Regions from separate parts of the Homo sapiens genome. Here regions 2 and 3 are each linked to region 1. The links are contacts of gene promoters, found by promoter capture Hi-C in blood cells and fetal thymus (Javierre and others, 2016). All regions are on one chromosome and are shown on one strand. The core of a region is centred on a gene start or on the middle of the fragment in contact, and the rest is flanking DNA. Distances in the headings are between cores, read along the strand shown. Region 1 holds the start of VAPA (VAMP associated protein A). Region 2 holds the start of MTCL1 (microtubule crosslinking factor 1). Region 3 holds the start of RAB12 (RAB12, member RAS oncogene family).

Evidence for each region. The method cuts DNA at HindIII sites, captures the fragments that hold promoters and counts their contacts. A CHiCAGO score of 5 or more calls a contact.
Region 2: the fragment with the promoter of MTCL1 here is called in contact with the fragment with the promoter of VAPA in region 1 in 4 of 17 cell types (total CD8 T cells, non-activated CD4 T cells, activated CD4 T cells and 1 more); the score reaches 8.2 in total CD8 T cells.
Region 3: a contact is called between the fragment with the promoter of RAB12 here and the fragment with the promoter of VAPA in region 1, in 1 of 17 cell types (total CD4 T cells). The highest score is 5.2, in total CD4 T cells.

The regions. Positions count from the first base shown.
Region 1 is chr18:9,911,816-9,915,268 of GRCh38, forward strand. It overlaps VAPA (VAMP associated protein A), which reads left to right and starts at 2,201. Exons shown (of 6, transcript NM_194434.3): 1 at 2,201-2,520. The coding sequence starts at 2,442. LOC124904245 (a long non-coding RNA gene) reads right to left here and starts at 2,133. Exons shown (of 2, transcript XR_007066284.1): 1 at 1,897-2,133; 2 at 1,118-1,518. RefSeq lists silencers at 2,136-2,185, 2,396-3,185 and an enhancer at 2,703-3,320. The HindIII fragment of the contact is 3,402 bases long and covers 545-3,453 here.
Region 2 is chr18:8,703,124-8,707,032 of GRCh38, forward strand. It overlaps MTCL1 (microtubule crosslinking factor 1), which reads left to right and starts at 2,433. Exons shown (of 15, transcript NM_001395333.1): 1 at 2,433-3,590. The coding sequence starts at 2,538. All of the region lies in intron 1 of GACAT2 (gastric cancer associated transcript 2), which reads right to left. RefSeq lists silencers at 1,778-2,217, 2,598-2,657. The HindIII fragment of the contact is 5,801 bases long and covers 49-3,909 here.
Region 3 is chr18:8,607,892-8,611,435 of GRCh38, forward strand. RAB12 (RAB12, member RAS oncogene family) reads left to right here and starts at 1,546. Exons shown (of 6, transcript NM_001025300.3): 1 at 1,546-2,062. The coding sequence starts at 1,549. RefSeq lists silencers at 1,374-1,603, 2,034-2,333 and an enhancer at 2,784-2,833. The HindIII fragment of the contact is 24,115 bases long and covers 1-3,544 here.

The sequences.
Region 1 (3,453 bases), core at 951-3,450:
TCCTCCTGCATCCGGAGTTGATTCCTTCCAGTGGGTTCCTGGTCTTGCTGACTTCAAAAATGAAGCCCCGGACCTTCACGGTGAATGTTACAGCTCTTAAAGATGGCACAAACCCAGGCCAGGCGTGGTGGCTCATGCCTGTAATCCCAACACTTTGGGAGGCCAAGGCGGGTGGATCACTAGGTCAGTCCTGTAATCCCAGCACTTTGGGAGGCCAAGGCGGGTGAATCATGAGGTCAGGAGATCGAGACCATCCTGGTTAACACGGTGAAACCCCACCTCTACTAAAAATATAAAAAAATTAGCTGGGCATGGAGACAGGCGCCTGTAGTCCCAGCTACTCAGGTGGCTGAGGCAGGAGAATGGCGTGAACCTGGGAGGCGGAGCTTGCAGTGAGCTGAGATCACGCCACTGCACTCTAGCCTGGGGGACAGAGCGAGACTCCCTCTCAAAAAAAAAAAAAAAAAAAAAGAAAGAAAGAAATGATGGCACAAACCCAAAGACTGAGCAGCAGCAAGATTTATTGTGAAGAGCAAAAGAACAAAGCTTCCACAATGTGGAAAAGGACCCAAGCAGGCTGCCCCTGCAGGCTGGGGTGGCCAGTTTTTATTGGCTTATTTGTCCCTGCCCATGCCCTGCTGATTGGTCCATTTTACAGAGTGCTGATTGGTCCATTTTACAAACCTCTAGCTACCTACAGAGTGCTGATAGGTGCGTTTTTACAGAGCACTGATTGGTGCATTTTACAAAACTCTAGCTAGCTACAGAGTGCTGATTGGTGCATTTTACAATCCTCTTGTAAGAAAAGTTCTCCAAGTCCCCACCCAACCCAGAAATCCAGCTGGCTTCACCTCTCACTCCCAGGAATTTCAGGGCTGAAAACACATTCCTCGTGGGTGGCACAATCTTCTGTGAATGCCAGGCTAGCAATTCCAGCAGGCTGTTCCTGGATGGACCCTAATACCTGGATCGCACATGAAAACTTGGATTTGGTGCCTACTTCTAGACTGCTGTTTCGTCTCGTTTATTTTCTAGACAAACTGTGCTGCTCCATGGCAGTAGCATCAATATGTCTTTTGTTTCGTGGCGCTACCTAGGGATTTAAATTCAAACCGTATCACAAAATACAATAAAGGTTTATTTACAGCACATTGGTTTCATTTGACGTTCCTGTACCGGACTACCCTGGCAATCGGCTAAAGTTTTGTCAGCAAGTTTGCTGCTGGGATTTTTCTTATTTGGTTCAGTTTACTACAGCCTATCGTAAGTGATGCAGATGGAGTTAGTTTCTAACATGTGAACGTGAGAACTGTTTTGGTTTGGGTCCATCATTAAAACTGAAGAAGATTATTTGGGTTCGATGGTGTAGATTTTTGACTTTTATTTCTAGTTTCTGTGTGCTTTGTCATATTTCCCCTTGCTTCCTAGACGAGGTGTGTTTCCTTATCTGATTTTGCATCACTGGAGAGAACTCAGGAAGCAGGAGAGGCTGAATTGGATACCACGGGGAATGCAGCCCTGCCAACAGAGGACTGGATAGAATTAGAGCAAACGGACACATCCCCCCACGCCTGTTCTCCACAGGGCAGATTTTATTAATATATTTCTAACATTGGGGCCTCGTTTCAGTCTTCAAGTTTTTTCTTTTTTAGCGCAAACTAGACGCGCTCTGAGAGCCAAAATTAGCGTCCGCGAACCCCACCCCATTGCCTCCAACAGACCTAGCTCTCCTTTCCACCCTCAAACAGCCGTTACTACAGTTCCCAGCAAGCACCGCGCAGGGCCGCAAAGGGCCAGGCCCTCGGCGAAGGCCCCGCCCCGCAGGGGGCATGCCGGGAGTTGTAGTGAGTGGGCGCTTCCCTACTACTACTTGTCCCTTCCACTGGGCATTCCCACTTGGAAGAGTGTGATGCGCTGCCAGAGCAGTTTCTCTAGTTCCGTACTCGGAGCTCAAGGTGACAGAGGACTGCGCTTCCAGCCCTGCGCTGCGCATCGCGTCGGTCCCGCGGACCTTTGCCCCGCCTCCTTCCACACCCGTTCCCTTGACAGCTGGGCTGCGCTCCGGGCCGCGGCAAGCCGCGAGCGCGCAGGCGCAGCAGCCCCGCGCCGCGCTAGGCCGGCCTGGAGGGCGGGACAAGCGCTAGAAGCTCCCGGCCGGGGGCGCGCACGTAGGCACGCAGAGGCCGTCACGTGGGTCGCCGAGGCTCGCAAGTGCGCGTGGCCGTGGCGGCTGGTGTGGGGTTGAGTCAGTTGTGGGACCCGGAGCTGCTGACCCAGCGGGTGGCCCACCGAACCGGTGACACAGCGGCAGGCGTTAGGGCTCGGGAGCCGCGAGCCTGGCCTCGTCCTAGAGCTCGGCCGAGCCGTCGCCGCCGTCGTCCCCCGCCCCCAGTCAGCAAACCGCCGCCGCGGGCGCGCCCCCGCTCTGCGCTGTCTCTCCGATGGCGTCCGCCTCAGGGGCCATGGCGAAGCACGAGCAGATCCTGGTCCTCGATCCGCCCACAGACCTCAAATTCAAAGGTAGGCAGAACGGGGACACCCCCGGGTGGGGTGGGGCGCGCGGACCGCTGGCTGTCGGCGGGGGGGCGCGGAGGGCACGTCCGCGGCCCTGGCCCGAGGGAGCGCCCCCTCCCCCACGCCCCGGCGCCTTCCCTTTCCCGGCTGCTTTCTTGCCGCCACCTCGGCCGGCCTGCCCCTTGCTCCGGCCCGCTTCATCCCCTCCCGCCCGCCCTCGCTGCGGTGCGCGCGCCGGCCGGGGCGAGGCGGAGGGGAGCCCGGCCCTGGCGCCGCCGCCGCCGCCATCTTGCGGTCCCGCGGGGGCGCCTCCTGGGCGTCCGGTCCCGCCCGCGCCGCGGTCCGCCTGGGCCCGCGTCCTTGGCCCCAGAGGCCGACGGCGTGCTTCGGCGGGGCGTGGGCGGCTGGGCACCCGAGGGCGTGCGCTCTGGGCTGCGGCGGGGAGTGGGCTCTGGAGGTGGCGCAAGCTGCGTCTGTCGCCCGCTCCCGGCTGTCAGCGGCGCGGGGAGGCTAGGGCACGGCGCGGGACCCCTTGGGAGTGAGAGCCGCCCCCCGACCCCTGCCCCGGCCCGGGGAGAGCTCGCTGCAGCCGGCCCTCGGGTTCCGCGGAGGGCGTCGCTTGTCACCTTTCCGCCAGGTTTAGAACTCGGCCGTCAGGTGTAGGACGCGCCGGGGAGGTGGAGAGTCCTTGGAGGTGCCTGGCGAGGGCTGCCCGGTGCTGTTGGCACGGACCCAGGTGCGTGCGGGCAGGAGCGATGCGTCAGCCGCAAACGGAGAGTTGTAGGTTCATAGTAGCGGGGCTTCCTGCCTTCTACGACATTTCAGTGTGCCACCCGCGTGCTTTTATTTAGCCCTTTAGTTGAGCTCCTCTGCTGAGAAACCTTCAGTGCGTGTGACTTTTTTGCTTTTACGTTTGCGGTTTCCGACAGATCCTGAGAA
Region 2 (3,909 bases), core at 1,183-3,682, 1.2 Mb before region 1:
TTTTTGGGGGGCCCTTTCTTTGAGTGTATATGGTATGAGAAGCTGGCAAGCTTGTGCTGAGAGTCCTGGCCATAATTCTTCGGAAATGTGAGGGTGTGGGAGGCTTCAGAGCCTCTGGAGGAAGTTCTAGGCAGAGGTCAGTTGTGCTCTGGCCCGACCGCGGGCCCCCTCCCACGGAAGGGCAGAGCTAGAGGGCCCTCTGGGGACAGCAGGCCCGGCGCGAGCGGTGGCCAACACCTCTCAAGCCTTTCGAGGTGTGCCGTCATCCACGCCCACCGTGGAGCCAACAGTGTCCTTCTCCCAACGCTGGAGAAACGGCTAGGGCATTAGCCTCAAAGGAGATTAAGGAATTGGATTTCGTAGAGATTGGATTTCGTGCGTGCTGTCTCCCATTCAGAGGCATTCCCAGAAAAACGACTCACAAAGACCACAACAGCAGCAGAGCAGGCGAGGTCTCAGTGCCCCCAGAGCTCAGCCAGGGCGAGGCAGGACGACTTCGGGGCAGGGCTCTCCTGACGTAGGGATTACAACAAAAGGGTTCATCCTGCATTTTTTGAAGGAGATGGCTAAGTAGGGTAAATCTGTGGTTAAGATCACAGACTTTGGAGTCGATTTTTTCCTCCTATTTTTGCGAGTCGGCCCCCTCTTCTCTGTCCCTGCTCCCAAGGCCCCCTCACCGCGCATACTGCCACAGCCGCTCGCAGCTCCCGTGGCCCACCTCCCTCTCCTCCAGGTTGCTGCCCCCGGGGTCTTTTTGAGCACATCAGATCATCTTGCTCAGAATACCCCGTGGCTACCGCCTCTAGGATAATGCCCAACGGCCTTGGTAGGATATTTGGTGCCACACACCCTCCAGTCTCCCCTCTAATCCCTAACCTACCTGCCTCCCCGCCCAGGGGCCCTGCTCTCTGCAGGCTCTACTGTGTCCTGGGCCCTCAGCTGAGAGACCAACCCGTCCTTCCAGGAAAATGCGAGCCTCACCAGGCAGGGTTATGCTCCCGCCCTCCTCCTTGTAATTATTACCTGACCCTCTGCCTCCTGCAACGCCAGGGCTGGAGGACAGGCTGGCCCCTATTCCTATGGGCACTGGCCAACATCCAACGCCTGGGACATAAACTGCACCCAATGGTATGTGAACTGTACTTTACAGTTTGCACGGTGTGTTCTGGTATTTGCTAAATCTTCACACATGCTCAGGTGGCAGTACGTTTTAATGATACAGGCGAGGGAACTGGGGCTCAGAAAGGTCTAGTGCCTTGCGCATGGGAGACTCAAGTGGTAGAACCGGTGGCCGGGCTCCGGGCTCTGAGCGGAAAGCCTGCAGGACTCGGAATCCTGAAGACCTGGGTTTAAACCCGCTCAGCTAGGGACTGGGTGAGGCATCGCAGGCAAGTGACTTCACCTCCCAGCGCCGGTGCCCTAGTCTTCACCGAAGACAGCAATTCCAATCTGGGACTGTGGTGAGGCTTAAATAAAACACTGCTCAGTAAGTGGCCAGCAGGCCTGGCTCGCAGCCGGAACTATAAATGTGAGTTCCCTTTCTGACCCCCAGGTTTGGCGAGGGCTCCTCCTGTTTGGGCAGCAGCTCCTCCTGAGCTCCCGAGGCCACGGGGGTGCCAACTGTGGAGCGCCCGCCGTGCCGTTTAGACGCGAGAGCTGCGTCGGGTACCAGCGATCCTTAAAGGAGCTCGGGGACCAGGGGCACAGCTTGGAGAGGACAGCGAGGGAGGTGACTGGCCTCGGGGAGGCGGGCGGTGGATGGAGAGGCATGAGAGGGGTGTTGTCAGCCGCGGCACACGCCTTCCCCAAGTGGCCGGCGCCGCCCCTTGCCACCACTTCACCTCCGCCTCTTCCCTTCCTCCCTAGCTCCTGGCAGCGTCTCTAGGGCCTCAAAAAGCAAGGAGGGTCCCCGGGCAGCGAGGCCCCATGGATCCAGCCTGCGCCTGCTCCCAAGGGCGCGCAGGTCCCGCCCCTGCCGGGCGCCCGCCCCCCGGGGAGCGCAAGCCCCCGCCCCTTCCCTCGCCCCTCCCCTGCACGGCGCCGGCTGGCTGGAGGCGGGGCATGCGCACGGGCCTGGGCGAGGGCGCTGGGCGGCGGGGAGGTGGGGCGCGCGCGTGCGGCTTCTCTCAGCCGGGAGCGGCGGGGGCGGGCACGGGCAGCAGCGGGCCGGCGGTGGGCGGGGAGCGGGACGCGGGAGCCGGGCGCGCGCCGCCAGCGCCGCCGCGGCACCGGTGACCGCGAGCCCGGAGCGCGAGGTCCGGGGATGCGAGCGGCCGGGAGCCGCCGCGCTGCTGAGCCGGGAGAACTCGATCCGCGGTGACCTCAGCGAGGGGCGAGCGCGGCGGCGGCGAGCCCCGCGGGAATCCTCGGGGCCGGGGTGCGGGGGGCGGGGACGGCGGGAGCGCGGGGCGCAGCCCGGGCGGGGCTGGGACAGTGATGAGAGAGCGCGCGGGGAGGCTGCACGCCGCCGCCGCCGCCGCCGCCGCCGTCGTCGTCCGGAGCATCTGCTGCCTGAGCTGCTGCCGGCGGACCCGGCCATGGAGACACTGAACGGCCCCGCGGGCGGAGGTGCCCCGGACGCGAAGCTGCAGCCGCCCGGCCAGCACCACCGCCACCACCACCTCCACCCGGTGGCCGAAAGGCGGCGGCTGCACCGTGCGCCCTCGCCCGCCAGACCCTTCCTCAAGGACCTGCACGCCCGGCCCGCCGCGCCCGGCCCGGCCGTCCCCTCCTCGGGCCGAGCCCCGGCTCCCGCCGCCCCGCGCTCGCCCAACCTCGCGGGCAAAGCGCCGCCCTCGCCGGGGTCCCTGGCCGCGCCCGGCCGCCTCTCTCGGCGCAGTGGCGGCGTCCCGGGCGCGAAGGACAAGCCCCCGCCGGGCGCCGGGGCCAGAGCGGCGGGCGGTGCCAAGGCTGCCCTGGGAAGCAGGAGGGCGGCGCGCGTGGCGCCCGCGGAGCCGCTGTCCCGGGCTGGGAAGCCTCCCGGAGCCGAGCCGCCGTCTGCCGCTGCCAAGGGCCGCAAAGCCAAGCGCGGCTCCCGGGCGCCACCCGCCCGCACCGTCGGCCCCCCGACCCCGGCCGCCCGGATCCCTGCCGTGACCCTCGCGGTGACCTCGGTGGCCGGGTCCCCGGCCCGCTGCTCGCGCATCAGCCACACGGACAGCAGCTCCGACCTCTCTGACTGCCCCTCCGAACCCCTGTCCGACGAGCAGCGCCTGCTCCCTGCCGCCAGCAGCGACGCCGAATCCGGCACGGGCTCCAGCGACCGTGAACCCCCACGAGGAGCGCCGACGCCGAGCCCCGCAGCCCGAGGAGCGCCGCCGGGCAGCCCCGAGCCCCCAGCGCTCCTCGCCGCGCCCCTCGCCGCGGGCGCCTGTCCCGGGGGCCGGAGCATCCCGAGCGGGGTTTCGGGGGGTTTCGCGGGGCCCGGCGTGGCGGAGGATGTCCGGGGGCGCTCGCCACCGGAGCGACCAGTCCCCGGGACCCCCAAGGAGCCCAGCCTGGGCGAGCAGTCTCGGCTCGTGCCAGCGGCGGAGGAAGAAGAGCTGCTGCGGGAGATGGAGGAGCTGCGCTCGGAGAACGACTATCTCAAGGTGAGCCGCGCCTCGGCCGCAGGTGTCCCGGGGCGCCCCCGGAGGGCCTGGCTGCGGCGGGGACCCGCCAACCCCTCCTTCCCGGGCCTGTCCAGCGCCTTCTCCCTCCTGCTCTCCACGGTCCTACCCCCGCATTGTCAGGCATTGGCAACTTAAGCCCAAACTTCTGGAAGGAGAAGCAAGACCTGTGGGACCCCGCCAGTTCGCAACCCACTTCTCTTTTCTCGCGTCTAGAACTCTTGCGTCTCTTCGCTGATACTTTTACTTTTGTTGACCTGTTGGGGCAGAGGAGGCTGTAATCGTTTTGGGGACATCAGCG
Region 3 (3,544 bases), core at 296-2,795, 1.3 Mb before region 1:
ACTTGAGGCCAGTTCAGGGTCTCACACTGTTGACTAGCCTGGTTAACAAACCAAAACCCCAACTGTACAAAAAATTTTTAAATTAGCCAGGCGTGGTGGCACGTGCCTGTGGTCTCAGCGGCTCAGGAGGCTAAGCAAGGAAAATCACTTGGGCCCAGGAGTTCCAGGCTGCCGTGAGCTGTGATCGCACCACTGCACTCCAGCCTGCGCAACAGAGCAAGGCTGTCTCAAAATCAAAACAAAACAAAATGAAAGAAAAAGAAAGAAAGAAGGAAAGAAAGAAAGTAAATTCCGTGATGGTAAGTGATGGATCTGTGTTTCAAATAATATAGAGGGATCATATTTTACATATTCTCAGAATTCATATTATAAAGATCCCTACAGTGACTGCACAGTTAAGAATGCTCTCATAGATGTAAACTTCCAATCTACACTGTGGGCAACGCTAGATTTTTACAAATCAGGTTTGCTGTGTAACATATGCGTGTACTGTGCATTACTAAACCTAGTTCTAAATACAGCACAGCTGAAATTTTGTGGGTAACGTGATCATTCGGCAAATGTTGCCAGCCCCTATCATATTCAGAACCCTGTGTTCTGAGATGCTCAAGTTCAAGCTGAGGAATTTGCTAAACAAATCTCTGGCAAGGAATCAGCAGTGATTTTCTGTATCCTTAAATCCTTCCAAACAGAAATGGCAAAACATACGACCCGAGTCCATAATTCCTAAAGTTTCAATCTTCTCGCACTGTTTGAGTTTTAACTCGCTTATTCCCCCAAAGGAGTATGCCATTTACTTAATTTAAAAATTAAACAGCATAAAAACTTCTGAACTCTGAGTGAGACAGCGATCAGAGTTAAAAATAACTGATTTCGCGCGTTTCCGTGCAAAATGGGAGACAGACGTGACGGAGAGAGACCGAGCAGTGCCACGGCCCGGTAGAGGGTGCGGGGGCTTGCACCCGCTGGTGTTTGTGAGAGAGCGCTGGTGTAGACGCGAACGCAGCGCAGGCGGCCCGGCGGCGCGGCCTCAGGTCGGGGCCTTTCCAGCGTTCCAGCTACACCGAGCGCGCGGGGGCGAAAACATGTGCATGGTGTTTGGGGACTGTGCGCATGGGAGTGTTTTCACTGTCAACCAGGGTTCTTTTTCTTATTTTGAACCCATTTTCATGATGCACCGGAATGCTGAAGTTCAAAATTGCCTACGGAGAATTTTAAGACTAAAACCACACTAAGTTTCTTGTGTTAACTATAAATGCGGGTCAGAGTGAAAGCCGAGTAGGGAGGAGTGAAAAGGGGGAAAAGGGAAGAGATAAGAGGAAGAAAAGATGAAAGAGCCGGCGGAAGAGGGAGGGAAGCGGGGGCGGGCAGGCGAGCAGAGGCAGGGAAAGAGCGGCGCGGGTTGCGGGAAAGCTCCGCGCGCAGTACCCAACCGAGGCCCGGGCGCGCGGTCCTCCCGCCGGCAGGGGGCGCCCACCCGCCCGCCTCCGGCCCCTCGCGGCCAGCCGCCCCGCCCGCGCCTGCGCTTCCTGCCCCTCCTCGTCCGGGATGCTGCTGCCGCTACTGCGGAGTAGCTGCTTCCCTTCCTCCTCTCCCGGCGGCGGCGGCGGCAGCGGCGGAGGAGGAGGAGGAGGGGACCCGGGCGCAGAGAGCCGGCCGGCGGCGCAGTTGCAGCGCGGAGCCCACGGGCCGCCGGGGCCGCTCCAGCGGGCGGAAGCCGAGCCCGGGGCCGACCCCCCGCGCGCGGCGGAGGCCGAGGGGGCGCCGGGGCCCGGGGCGCGCAGCCGGGGGGCGGGCGGCGGCGGGCGGCGGGCCGAGCGGGAGCCGCATGCGTGTATGGATCCGGGCGCCGCGCTGCAGAGGCGGGCCGGGGGCGGCGGCGGTCTGGGCGCGGGCTCCCCGGCGCTGTCGGGCGGCCAGGGCCGCCGGAGGAAGCAGCCCCCCAGGCCGGCCGACTTCAAGTTGCAGGTCATCATTATCGGCTCCCGCGGCGTGGGCAAGACCAGCCTGATGGAGCGCTTCACCGACGACACCTTCTGCGAGGCCTGCAAGTCCACCGTGGGTAAGGGCGCCACGGCGACCCTGGGCCGGGCCTCCTGGCGCCCGGGCAGGTGCCCTTCGCCCCGTGGGCTTCGAGTCTCATCGAGCCTGGGAGTCTTTCGGGGATGGGCCTCTCGGTGAAACTAGGGGCGGGGGTCTCCTTGGAGCGCCCTGCATCCCAATCCCAAAGCCTGGCAGAGGTTTTCGTGCCGCCTCCGGGCAGACCTGCCCTTGGCCCCCGGCCCTGCCTCAGAGGTCCTGGCAGCCCCCGGGGCCTGTGGGGGCGGCTCTCCACGGAAACTTCGGCCCTTAGCATACTCGCCCAAGAAAAAGCTGGGTTCGAGTGGAGCGCAGGCAGGCAGGGGAGTGAACGCCTAAGGCCGCTCTCGCCCGGCCCGCCAAGGCCAGCGCGCGCCGTCTGCTGCGGGTGTGATCCCTGCGCAACCAGGGCAGTTTTCTTATTTTGAACCCATTTTCAAGAAATGAAGTTTAAAGTCACCTATGGAGAATGTTAAAACTAAAACTACAGTAAGTTTCTCGTGCTAGCCGTACGTACGGGGCAGAGGAGCTTCAGCTGTATTTATCCATGACCTCAAACAACCCGGTGACTGGCGGGCATGGGGTTGATTCCTCCAGTACCGCTGTTTTCGGTGAGGGACAGGAGTGAAGTAAGTACAGGAACGCTCCAGGGTCAAGGAGGAAAACAGCCGTGGATCTGAAATGGAAACTGCAGGGGAAATTTTTTTAATTAAGTCATGCTTAGAGGACTTGACATTGAGATTTCTCAGTTGGATGTGGGTAGCAGTTGTTTCTATGGAAAACCCCTTAAAAGATGTCCAAACTAGGAGAACCCCGTTCTTTAAAATAAAGGGCAGTCACTTCCGTGATAGGAAGTGAGAGATTTCCCCAGGGGCGGTCCAAGAAACTGAGTAGTCAGGAGATTTGATAGAATTAAAAGCATAATTTCATGTAATTCTATTTATTAATAGTGTTATAACCAGTGGTAGTTCCAAGGCTGTCAGTACGATTTTGAGATGACTTGATTTGAAATTGTCATGTAACAAAACAGTACTACATTTAAAGTGTCTTATTGGAAAGTGAAACCTCCAATTTTTGTACTGTCTTTCTTGGTTTGTTTTCAAGAACTTACTTCCCTTAATGCTTTTTTGGAATAGATCATTTTGGAAATATTTGTGATGTCTGTACCATATGTTTTTAAAATGTTGTCGTTGGAGACATTATATTAAAATGAGTAGCATAACTATACCTGTTTCAAATATCCAGTCTTGGATCATGCAGAGTACAGGGAGTTGTTAAACCATCAAATGAGGGTTAGGCTGTTATTTTAGTACCTGACATAAATAAAGTAGGGTTAAATTCCGTTTAGAATTGTCAATATTTTATGGCTCCGTACTTCAGTATATAAAAATGAGAGATAATAGAGTTGCACTGTGTGATGAAGAGAAATCAGGTACCCATAGGTGGGTAACTGAGGGCTTGAGTG